4 separate regions of the Homo sapiens genome follow, and all the other regions are linked to region 2. The links are contacts of gene promoters, found by promoter capture Hi-C in human tissues and cell types (Jung and others, 2019). All regions are on one chromosome and are shown on one strand. Each heading gives the region's core, a stretch centred on a gene start or on the middle of the fragment in contact. The rest is flanking DNA. Distances are from core to core; before and after follow the strand shown. Region 1 holds the start of CCNF (cyclin F). Region 2 holds the start of KREMEN2 (kringle containing transmembrane protein 2). Region 3 holds the start of ABCA3 (ATP binding cassette subfamily A member 3). Region 4 holds the start of C16orf90 (chromosome 16 open reading frame 90).

Region 1 (2,700 bases), core at 199-2,698, 530 kb before region 2:
CCCTAGGGGGAGACAGGTAACAGTGACAAAGTAGGAAACAGTAACCCAGGAGGACAAAAGTGAGATAAGGGGATAATAAATCTGGGGGCTGAGAACATGGGACATCTGGGGAGCAGGCCCCAAACTCGCTCAGCCTGTCCTCTCTTCACCCTCCTTCACCCGCTTCCTGATTCCGGGACAGGGAATATTCCCAACTTCCAGACCCTCTCTGGGGCCACGGACTCTTCTGTACCCTGTGCTGTGATCACCTGTTTACTCTGTCTCTTGCCCCAGGCCGGCTGAAGCCTGCACGCCAGGGCTCCTGTCTGTGTGCCCAGGGCAGGCCCAGTACTTGAAGGAGTTCTATGGGGACCCGGAAGGATGGAAGGGTGCAGACTGAGGGAAGCGTGAGGGAGGGGTGGGCAGCCTTGGCCCAGGCCCCTGCCTTCCCCAGGAAAAGCCCCCTCTGTCCTCCACCAGACAGTCAGGAGGCTGCGAGTCTTCCCCTTGACAGCCTGTGCCGTAAAAGGGGTGCGGTGTGGCTGACTCCTGAAGGACAGCTCAGATGGGCACTGCCCAAGACAAGAGTGAGCAGATACGACACTTCCCGCGGCGAGCAGCTCCAGGTAGCAGCCGAGGAGGCCAGACAGGGGGCAGCATCTGGCCAAAGTGATGGGGAGGGCTTGCCCCGGGGCTGGAGCACTGAGGCGTCCAGGGTGCGCCACGTTTCGCGGGAAGAAGGGGTCAGCGTTCCGCGGGGGAGACTTCCCAGCGTCAGCTCCGACCTCCTCTTTCTCTACCACGATCCCGGCCAGCATCCCCGCCCAGCAGCGGCTCAGCCACAAACCCAAGGGTCTCCACCTGAAGCAGGCGGCGGAAGGGAAGGCCGTGCAAGCTGGGGGTGAGGGTCGCGGGCCCAGGAGCGACCCCGGGACCCGGGCAGGGCACGGCCTCGTCTTAGAAGCGCCACGTCGAGGCTGTCCCAGGCTGGATCACGGCCGCGACTGCGAGGGACGCCAAGGAGTCCTCTTTCCCCTGGCCGCAGGCGTGCGCCTTCGCAGCCCATCTGGCACCGCAGATGCCGGTCGCCGGGGTCAGCGGCGAAGCCCGAACCCATGCGGCCGGGAGGGGACGCCCACAAACCCCTGCCCGCCGGCCGGGAAGCGCTCCTACGGGACCCCAGCCCCGTTGGGGAGGCGGGGCGGCCACGCGGGTTCCACCAATCAGCGGCCAATGTTCGAATTCGCGTCCTGGCGCGGCCAATGGCGGGTCCCGGAGCAGGCGGGGAGGGCGTGGAGGGCGGTAAATGAGGCGAGCACAGGGCGGGACATGGGCGGGGCCGGCGGCGGCCCCCCCGGGCAGGCCAATGGGAGGGCCGGGTGCGTTTGAAAACTGGGGTGGGCGGCGGGGCGGGGTCTGCGCCTGCGCGAGGGCTACGCGCGCTCCGGCCGGGGCGCGGGCGCGCTCTCAGGCGGGCTCCGGCGGCAGCGACGCGAGCGCGGCGATGGGGAGCGGCGGCGGTGAGTGCGGGGCGATGTCCGCTGGTTTCTGCCCCACACCCCTTCTGCCTGCCCTGCGGGGCGGACGGTGGGTCCCGCGGGAGGGGAGGCCCTGGCGGCCTGAAGAGGGCTGGCTCGAGCTCTTTAACCCGGGGCGGATGTCGCGTCCCGCGCAGGGAGCCCCGGCGGCCGGGCGCGCGGTTTAAATGCCCGGCGGGCGCCCGAGCCCCTCGGAGCCTTCCCCCGCGGCGACGTTTTCCGGCCCTTTCCTGGGGCAACGATCGGGTCCCGGGGCAGCGATCCGGCGATCGGGTCCCGGGGCGGCGATCGGGTCTCGGGGAGCCAAACACCAGCGCCTCCTGGTCGGGGAAAGGGCTGCGGAGCGCGTGGGGGCGAAGCGATCCCGCAGCCCGGCCGGGCCCTGACCGAGCCTCAGTCCAGCGGGGCCGTGGACCTAGCTCTGTGGAAAGCAGCGTTCGGCCCCGCGCGCGTTGAGGCACAGGAAACACGAACTGTGGTTTCAGCTATTATCATAGTATCTGTCCTGGAGCCGGAGAATGAGGAATATTTTATGGAGAGGTCTATAGAATCTTTGAGAATTCGTCGCCCTGGAATACGTTTGGCTTTTGCAGCTGATTTAATTGCTAACAGGAAGACCCCGGTCAAGAGAGGGGAGCCGGGAGCAATCGCTAGGAAGTCCTAGCAAGGCGGGGAGGGATTTGGGCCCACAGAGGGGAGTGGCGCTTCCTTTCAGGACTGGAAGGAAGGATGGATAGAAAGGTAGATTTGTAGATGGGGAGGCAGGATCCTGAGGTTCCTGTCTGAGGGCTTCTGTTTCCCTGTGAAATAAGGGCTAAGGTCATCTGCTTAGAGTGAGGAAGGGGTTGCTGGAGTAGGAGTTGGAAAATCCGGCTGTGGGAAGAGGAGAGAGCACATCTGAGAAGCATGTCCGGGCTGCCTGCCTGGTGGGTGGAATGCCCGTCTCACCTTTAATGATTGCATCTGTACACAAACCTACAGGTCTAGGTTTGTGTTGGGACCTGAGCAACAACCTTACTGCGTAGCTGTCAACTCCGCATTCTACAATAGAGGGCACACTGAGACTCTGCAGAGCTGAGACTTGGACGCACACTGCCCCGGCCTCCAAGTCTGTGGCTTCTCTCCAGGGCCGACCCTTCTAATTTGGACTTGAAAACCAGACTCTTCAAGCCCACAGATCTTT
Region 2 (2,700 bases), core at 166-2,665:
CGCAGTTGGGTTCCAGGGAGCCCGTGGGTGCTGGAGGCCCCAGCTCAGGGCTCAGTGAGCCGGGCCAGCCTGGCCTCTGAGAGGGCTCCCGGAGGAGGCGACCAGGACCCTGGCCTAGAGTCTCAGCAAGTCCATCTCCTTCAAATGCCCCCACCTCGGCTCCACGCCCCTCCTCCAGAGCACACTCGCGTGAGGCGCCAGCTGGAAGATCCTCGCGGGTCCCAGCACCGCAGTGGGTGCCTGGGCCTGACAGAACCTCCCTGAACCCCATCTTTCTTCTCCATCGACACCGGGGCAGAGACGGTGTGGGGGCTGCAGGGCGGGGACTGGTCGGCCTGGGCTCGACAGCTTGGCGAGGGCCTGGTGCGGGCTGGGCAGGCTGGACTGAGGGGCAAAGAGGTCTGGGCGGGGCGGGGCCGCTCTGGGCGCCCGGCCCCCACCAGTTCCTTCCCCCGGCCCCCGCCTCCGCCCTCCCACGCACCTGCGCTGGCCTCCCCCCAAGCCCTGGGGGCAGCGGGCGGGTGGCGCTGGGAGATCAGAGGACTCGGAGGAGTCGGGCCCAGGGGGAGGGGGCGGGGAATTTCCCCCCACGCCTGCCTGGGCCTGCTCCCCTCCCCCTCCCCCGCCAGGTGGGGGGCACGGCTGGGGGAATTCCACTGCAGTGTGAAGGCTCGGGAGAGTCTGGGCTGGGGGTCCCAGGGAAGGGCGGGGCAGGGGGAGGAGGAGGGGACAGACTGGGACCTGGGGCGCAGCTGCCTTTCTCCCCAGACACCAGCTGCCCCTGCCTGTCCCGGACTGAGCGTCCACGACTCCCGCCTGTCTCGTGGGCGCGGGGGCAGGGAGTGGAGCTTCCTCCGTCAGGCCAGCGGCATCTGGACCAGGGGCGGGAGGGGCGTGCGGATCCGAAGAAAGTGTGCGCGTGAGCGCCTGGCAATGAATGGGAGAGAGTGCGAGCGCGTGCGTGCACTGGGAGGAGGGCGCTTGTAACTCGGACATTCCGGGTGTCCTGGGGCGCGTGCGACCACGTGAGGGGGTTCTGTATCTCCCATTTTAAGGGCCTTCCGTCCGCTTGCCCCGCCTGTCCCCCTCCACACCTTCCCACTTGAACCGGCACCGACCTGAGGGAGAGGGGGCCGGGAAGCGCTGGACGCCCGGGGTCGGGGGAACGGGCGTGGGAGGCGTCTGGACCTGCTGCCTCCGCTCCAGTGCTGGGCGGGGCTTCCCGGCCTCCCATGGGGGGAGGGAGAGACCCAGGGGGAGGGACCCACGGAGGGATGCGAGGCGGGCAGGAGTCAGCCCGTTGGAGACCTGGGCGAGGGAGACGCCGAGAGCTAGGCTCAGTGGGAGGGGGCGGGCGTAGAGGCTGAGGCACCGCCCAGAGCTCGCTGAGACAGAGACTGAGAACGCCCCCGGCCAGATTCCCCCCGGAGAGACCCGGGTAGGGACAGGGACAGAGAGACGCCTCTAGGGGCAGAGGCCCTGGGAGGCAAAGACCCCCAGGAGAGATTTACCCACCCCAGACGGAAAGCGCGGCTCAGAGTCGGACGAGGGGAGACTGTCAGAGGACAACGCCCCCTAGGTCTCCTGGGAGACCCCGAAGCGACCCCGGGGGCAGCCCGGGCCGTGTCCGGGCGAGGGTGACCTATCCTTGGTTGAGAGCGATGGGGACACAAGCCCTGCAGGGCTTCCTCTTTCTCCTCTTCCTCCCGCTGCTGCAGCCGCGTGGGGCCTCGGCTGGGAGCCTGCACAGTCCAGGTAAGTCCCCGCACGGCTGTCGGGCCGTGTTCACCACCCCTTCCTCGGCCTCCGCCCCCAGGGCCAGGCCCCCAAGGCTAGGGAGGGGGACAGAGCAGGTGGCCGGAGCAGCTGAGCAGCCCGAGGGCTCCTGCAGGGGCGGGTGCGGGGTCGCTGGCTGGGGACCCAGGCGGGAGGTGGCGTAGGGGCGCGAGGATGCCCGGCGTGGGTCCGGACCTCCCCAGGCCCTGCCTTTGCCGTGCAGGCCTGTCCGAATGCTTCCAGGTGAATGGGGCTGACTACCGCGGCCACCAGAACCGCACTGGCCCGCGCGGGGCGGGCCGCCCGTGCCTCTTCTGGGACCAGACGCAGCAACACAGCTACAGCAGCGCCAGCGACCCCCACGGCCGCTGGGGGCTGGGCGCGCACAACTTCTGCCGGTGAGGGGCGGGGCCTGCGCTGGGGGCGAGGCTGGGCTCACCATTGCAGGGATGGCCCGAAGCGGGGCCTCCGTGCGGGCGGGGTGGAGGTCTGCCGTGGACTGGCAGCCCAGCCTCCTGGAGAACCTGGGGGCGGGGCCAGAATGAGGGGCGGGGCGGGGCGGGGCGGGGCGCGCGGAACCCTGGCGCAAAAGGGATCCTCCTCAGGTGAACAATTTCTGCAGAGCTCCAGTTCAGGGCCAGGAGAGAAACGGACCTGGGCACTCAAAGGACCCGTATGGGCGGGGCCTGGTCAGAGCGGGGGCCGAATGGGCGGGGCCTTGTCAGAGTGGGGCTCTTGTCATACAACTTATTTTGGGGTTCAGAGCCACAGCTACGGTCTGAGGCAGGATGGACCCAGCGGGAGGAGAGCCGCAAAGCTCAGGAGCTCACTTCTGCTTTTAAGTGGGGTTGGAGGCCAGGCGCGGTGGCTCAGCCTGTAATCCCAGCACTTTGGGAGGCCAAGGCAGGCGGATCATCTGAGGTC
Region 3 (2,700 bases), core at 195-2,694, 620 kb before region 2:
CTCGTGCTACCCTCTCCTGTTCCAAAAGCCTGTCTGGTCAGAATGGTGGTAAGTCACTTTAGGAAGGGAGAGACGTCGTCCTGTTTTTCAGGTAGAGTTAGCAAAGGTTCAATTTAAAAGAAAAATTATCTAAGAAGTTAAAAATGAAAGTGTGGGGGAGATTCCCATGACATCCATTTTTATCTATTTTTCCCTTTCTCTTACATTTCTCATGAGGCAAACTTTCTAAAACAGTCTTAGTCTTTTCAAGTTTACAAAAGGCAGCGCCCAGACTATCTGAATAAAATGACGGGATGCCCAGGAGAAGAGTGAACCTCTCCCACGTGCTCCCTGCCTGGGCTCCATGCTGTCGCGGGGTCTCGGCTACTCACTCAGCGGGCATTTCTGGAGTTCCAGGAACACAAACCCCAACAAGATCCAATCGACGCCTTCCCGGAGTGCACAGTCCAGGACGTAACCCGGAGAACAAGCGGCAATTACCCCCTGAGGACATGGCTTCATCTGTGCGACAGACACCAAGCGCCTTCCCCACGCCCCTGACCATAAGGCCGTCCCGGCCCTTCTGAAGCGTGGAGCCGGCTTGGAACAGAGCCAAGACACACGGACGCGATGCACACAGGCGTCCTGACCGAGGGCGCCGAGAACGCGGCCTCCGGCGACTGCCACAAGCCCCTCCGCCTGGACTAGCGGCTCCCCTTTCCCGTTCCCACACAGTGGAGGGCGCAGCAAACGCCCGCCGCGGACCGTGGGCCTTGGATTCGGATTTGGAGGCTCCTCGGAACCAGAGGGTGGGAGCAGGCGGAATCCAACCCGGGCGGCTTTGCCACCGCGCGCCCGGCATCCCTGCGGCCGGAAAGCGGCGCCATCTCCGCAAGTGCGCGGCGGACGCCTGCATCCCTCGGGGCCGGGGCTGTCGGTCGCTACATATCCACCTTCTGGGCGCACACAGAGGGCCCGGGCCGTGCCGAGTCTCCGCAGGGTCGAGCTTCCCCGCGCGGCGCGGGCTCAGGCACTGCCCGCAGTGCGGGACACGCCCAAGGCTCGGATGGGAGCCGACGCTGAGGGAGCGGCACCTGCAGGGAGCGCCCGGAGCCGAGGCCGCGGCAGGAGGGGCGGGCGCGGGCGCGGCCGGAGGGGATGCGGGGTCGCGGGAGGGGCCCGCAGGCCAGGCCGGAGCTGGGGGGGGCCCGAGGCCCGAGCTGGCCGGCGAGGGTGGGAAGGGCGGACCCGGGTGGGGACCGCAAGCCCCGGGAACGAGCGCGCGAGCGGCGGGTCCCGGCGGCACTCACCGAGCCTGGGCGCCGGGGCGGCGGCGGCCGGCGCGCGGCCCTCTCGCGGGGTCCCCTCCCTCGGCCACCCGGGCTCCGCTCCAGCCTCGCAGTGGCGGCGGCACTGACAGCTGCGTGGCCGCCCTGGAGGGGAGGGTGCGCCTGCAACCCGCTACTGGCGGACGCAGCGGCCGCTCCGGCTCCTGCAGGGGGCGCCGCGGATGGCGCGTGCGCAGTCGGCCGCCCCTGCAGGTGCCCGGTCCACCCCCGGCCGCCTCGGCCGCTCCGGCCAGCCCAACCCCGCGCCTGCGCGGTGCCCCCTGCATGTCGCCCATGCCCGGCAGAGGGCGCTCTGACTTGCGCGTGCGCAGTCAGCCACCCTGCGAGTACGCGGTTCGCACCCGGCCGCGCGGCAGCCCGTGCTTGCGCACTGCTCTGTGCCCGCGCCTATGTCCAGCAGGGGGCGCGCAGCGGCGGTAGCCGAGCGAGGGCGCGGTGGCCTCTGACAGGAATGACTCTGCGCACGTGCGTTTCGCAGCAGTGGAAGTCTTCACACCCGGAAACTCGACTTTGGCCGTTTCTCCATTTCTCCTCACGCACTGTCTTTCCTTGGGCCCTCGTCACTCCTGGCACCGGGGGAAGGGCTTCCCCGCCTCTGGCCGGGCGCTGGGGCGCGACCGAAGGCGAGGCGGCGGCGAGGAACCTTCTGGAATTCGGCCGTCGGGGCAGGCGTCGAGTTTACAGGAGAAGGCGCGGTGTCCCGGGATGAGCGGAGTCGCCCTCACTTAAGGAGCGAGGGAGGCCTCGGGGGTCCCCAGCCGGGTAGGAGTCACCTCAGGCAGGAGGGCCCGGCCTTGTCGGGGTCACCTGGCGGGAGGGTCCCGGGGTGGGGCGGGGCCGCCTGTGAGGAGGGTCCAGAGAGGGTCGGGGTCACCTGAGGGGAGGGTGGGGGGGTTCGGGGATGGTTGGGGTCACCCGACGGGATGGTCCGGGGAGGGTCGGGTTCACCTGAGGGGAGGGTCGGGGAGGGTCCGGAGAGGGTCGGGGTCACCTGAGGAGGTGGTCCGGAGAGGGTCGGGGTCACCTCACGGAGCGAGCGGAACGGGGTCACCTGGAGGGAGTGTCCAGGGCGGGGGCCCTGCAGGGAGTCGCCTGCAGGGAGGGTCCCGGGCGTGTCACATTAGGCGGTCCCAGGGACGGGTCGCGGTCTAACGGGACGGGAGTGGGGAGGTGGGTCGGGGTGTCCCTGGGCCGGACCGGGTCGTGGGACTGGGTCGCCCCAGGCAGGAGAGCCTGGGAGGGGCGGGCCCCCTTGGCGTGGCAGGGAGAGGTGGAGTGAGGGACTCCCGGGCTCCAGCATGAGGGCGGGCGCCGCGCGGGGCCGACAGTTGCCGCGGGCCGGGGCCAATGGGTCCCCGAGCGCCGCCAGCGG
Region 4 (2,700 bases), core at 51-2,550, 530 kb after region 2:
CTAACCTGAACCCTCATTTTACAAGTGAGAAAACTGAGGCCCAGCAAGGGAGACAGATTCCAAGGCCCCTCACCGAGTGTGGAGCTGGGGCAGTCACCCAGCCCTCCCTCCCAGATCCTCCCTTTTTCTCGCACCGCTTTGTCCCTGGTGGATTCTCCAGACCCCGCTTAGCTGTGCGTGATGCAGAGATGGGGACAGATTCATCAAGATCTTGGCCTTCTGGGGCATGGTGCCACTGTGGAGGCTTGGGAGTGGAGAAGGGCCCGCCTGAGGCCCCAGCCCAACCATCCCCTAGGGTCTTCCCCCGTGCCCAGTCCTGCCTTGACAGAGCTCACCACTGCTTCCCAGGCTGTCCCTGGGCAATCGGGCTTCCAGAAGGGCTGAACAGAGGCTGTTACGTGGGCCCAGAGTCCCCTGTGGCAGGTCCAGGGCCCAGGCTGTGCCCTCAGGCTGTGGCAGGCAGCCCCCAGCCATAAGCCGGCCCAGCCAGTGGCTCTCACACTGGCCAGTGGGTGGCGGGTGGCTCTCCAGGTAGAGGCCCAGGCCCCGGAGGTGGCGCAGCCGGAAGTTCTTGGGCTTGCTTCCCTGGGCACTGGGGCACTGCGGCTGCGGGGACCCCAGGCCCCCCTCGTAGATGTTGGGGGGTGCGTCAGGGTGGCCGGGGCGTCCTTGGGCCTGGCTCACTGCATCTGCAGAGGAGACAGCGGGAGGGTGGTGGCCAGCCCCCCACAGCAGCCATGAGGGGAGGGTGCAGTCACATACCTCTGAGACCAGCTCACATGATGGGCTACACCCCCAGCCAACCTGGCCTCAGTTTACCTGTGTGTCAAATAGTCTCAGTCCACTGCCTCCCCTGCCCATGCCCAAGACACGACTCCTCTTCCCACTCCCAACCAACAGGGAGGCCTGGGAAGCCTCGGGCCTTGGTACTAAGAGTGCTTTCAGGACCTCAAGTCCTTTCTACTACCCTGTTCTGCCCGCTACCCTAGGAAGAGTATTCTGGTCCCCACAGAGAAATTGCACAGTGGGTTTGAGAGAAAGTGGCCAGCCCAGGGGCTCATGGCCTGGCCCAGTGGCCATTCCCCTCTCCCAAGCATACATGTCCCTGAGGCCACCCCTCGGCTTTGGGCCCAGGTGGGGACAGAAGCCTATCTCTCTTCCTGCCACTCCTCCCCACAGCCCGGCACCTTCTCTTATGTGCAGCTCAGAAAATGCACAGACCAAGGCTTCCATGGAGGGCCAGTGTGGTGGGGAGGAGCAACCAGGACTTGGGTGCAGCAGGGCCCTGCTCTCCCCTGCCTAGGGGGTACATTGGCAGGTCTCCCCTGGCAACTGGTTCTTATGACATCACGGGGAAGACTCCCAGCCTTCCTGGACCCCTAGTTTGGGAGAGGACAGTGCCCAAGGCAAGGGCAGGGTGAAAGAAAGGCATGGGAAGGGGCCAGAACCCTGGGGGAAGTCCCTGGTCCCTCTGGCTGGGGTCAGGCCACATAAAACAGACAGCTCTGGCAAACTGGAGAGTCCTTCTCTCAGGTGATCTCTTGGGGCCAGCTTCCTCATCTGGGGTGGGAAATGAGGGTTCAGGAGTACAGACCTAGGAAGACCTAGGTCGGTACTTTGAAAATGCTGAAAAGGGGCTGGGGGCGGTGGCTCATGCCTGTAATCCCAGCACTGTGGGAGGCCGAGGCAGGCTGATCAGTTGAGGTCTGTGGGAGGCCGGGGTGGGCGGATCATGAGGTCAGGAGATCGAGACCATCCTGGCTAACACGGTGAAACCCCGTCTCTACTAAAAATACAAAAAAATTAGCCGGGCGTCGTGGCGGGAGCCTGTAGTCCCAGTTACTCAGGAGGCTGAGGCAGGAGAATGGCGTGAACCCGGGAGGCGAAGCTTGCAGTGAGCCCAGATCGCGCCACTGCACTCCAGCCTGGGCTGCAGAGCGAGACTCCGTCTCAAAAAAAAAAAAAAGTTAAACATTCATCTTTCCGGACCTGGCCAAGCAGGAAGCGCCATCATGGGAGCTGACGTCCGCCACAAGAAGGACCTAAAGGTTCGGCGCAAAGAGCCCAAGAGCCAGGATATCTAACTGAGGCTGTTTGTTGGTCAAGCTGTACAGGTTACCGTCCAGACGAACTAACTCCACATTCAACCAGGTTGTGCTGAAGAGGTTGTTTATGAGTCGCACCAACCGGCCACCTCTGTCCGTTTCCCGGATGATCCGGAAGATGAAGCTTCCTGGCTGGGAAAACAAAACGGCCGTGGTTGTGGGGACGCTTAACGGATGACGCGAGGGTTCAGGAGGTGCCCAAACTTAAGGTGTGTGCGCTGCCCGTGACCAGCCGGCCCACAGCGGCATCCTCAGGGTGGGGGCCAAGATCCTGACTTTCGATCAGCTGGCCCTGGACTCCCTCAAGGACGGCGGCCCCGTCCTACTCTCCGGTCTTCGCAAGGGCCGACAGGTGTACCGGCATTTCGGCAAGGCCCTGGGAACCCCACACAGCCACACCAAACGCTATTTCCGCTCCAGGGACCAGAAGTTCGAGCGCGCCAGAGGCCTACGGGCCAGCCGAGGCTACAAAAACGAACCCTCTTATTAAAAAGATTTTGGATGCTGACAAAAAAACAAAAAGTTAAAACATTCAATTTTCTCTTGTCACAGACGACCTGATTTTTCTTTTTTTCTTTTCTTTTTTTTTTTTTTT

The links. The method cuts DNA at HindIII sites, captures the fragments that hold promoters and counts their contacts. A contact is called where the count stands out against the background at its distance.
Region 1: a contact is called between the fragment with the promoter of CCNF here and the fragment with the promoter of KREMEN2 in region 2, in 2 of the 25 tissues and cell types used here (heart left ventricle and lymphoblastoid cells).
Region 3: the fragment with the promoter of ABCA3 here is called in contact with the fragment with the promoter of KREMEN2 in region 2 in 5 of the 25 tissues and cell types used here (aorta, heart right ventricle, mesenchymal stem cells and 2 more).
Region 4: a contact is called between the fragment with the promoter of C16orf90 here and the fragment with the promoter of KREMEN2 in region 2, in 1 of the 25 tissues and cell types used here (spleen).

What each region holds. Positions count from the first base shown.
Region 1 is chr16:2,427,999-2,430,698 of GRCh38, forward strand. It overlaps CCNF (cyclin F), which reads left to right and starts at 1,449. Exons shown (of 17, transcript NM_001761.3): 1 at 1,449-1,499. The coding sequence starts at 1,484. RefSeq lists enhancers at 510-1,089, 525-704 and silencers at 915-1,764, 1,775-1,824. The HindIII fragment of the contact is 14,340 bases long and covers 1-2,700 here.
Region 2 is chr16:2,962,860-2,965,559 of GRCh38, forward strand. It overlaps KREMEN2 (kringle containing transmembrane protein 2), which reads left to right and starts at 1,416. Exons shown (of 9, transcript NM_172229.3): 1 at 1,416-1,755; 2 at 2,000-2,174. The coding sequence starts at 1,662. RefSeq lists enhancers at 1-648, 135-264, 2,233-2,700 and silencers at 345-424, 455-584, 1,135-1,214, 1,745-1,994, 2,065-2,434. The HindIII fragment of the contact is 31,540 bases long and covers 1-2,700 here.
Region 3 is chr16:2,339,284-2,341,983 of GRCh38, forward strand. ABCA3 (ATP binding cassette subfamily A member 3) reads right to left here and starts at 1,445. Exons shown (of 33, transcript NM_001089.3): 1 at 1,290-1,445. It also overlaps the pseudogene ABCA17P. RefSeq lists silencers at 1,066-1,125, 1,296-1,755. The HindIII fragment of the contact is 11,234 bases long and covers 1-2,700 here.
Region 4 is chr16:3,494,189-3,496,888 of GRCh38, forward strand. It overlaps C16orf90 (chromosome 16 open reading frame 90), which reads right to left and starts at 1,301. Exons shown (of 3, transcript NM_001080524.2): 1 at 1,188-1,301; 2 at 336-689. The coding sequence starts at 1,233. It also overlaps a transcript of CLUAP1 not described here and the pseudogene RPL18P12. The HindIII fragment of the contact is 9,668 bases long and covers 1-2,058 here.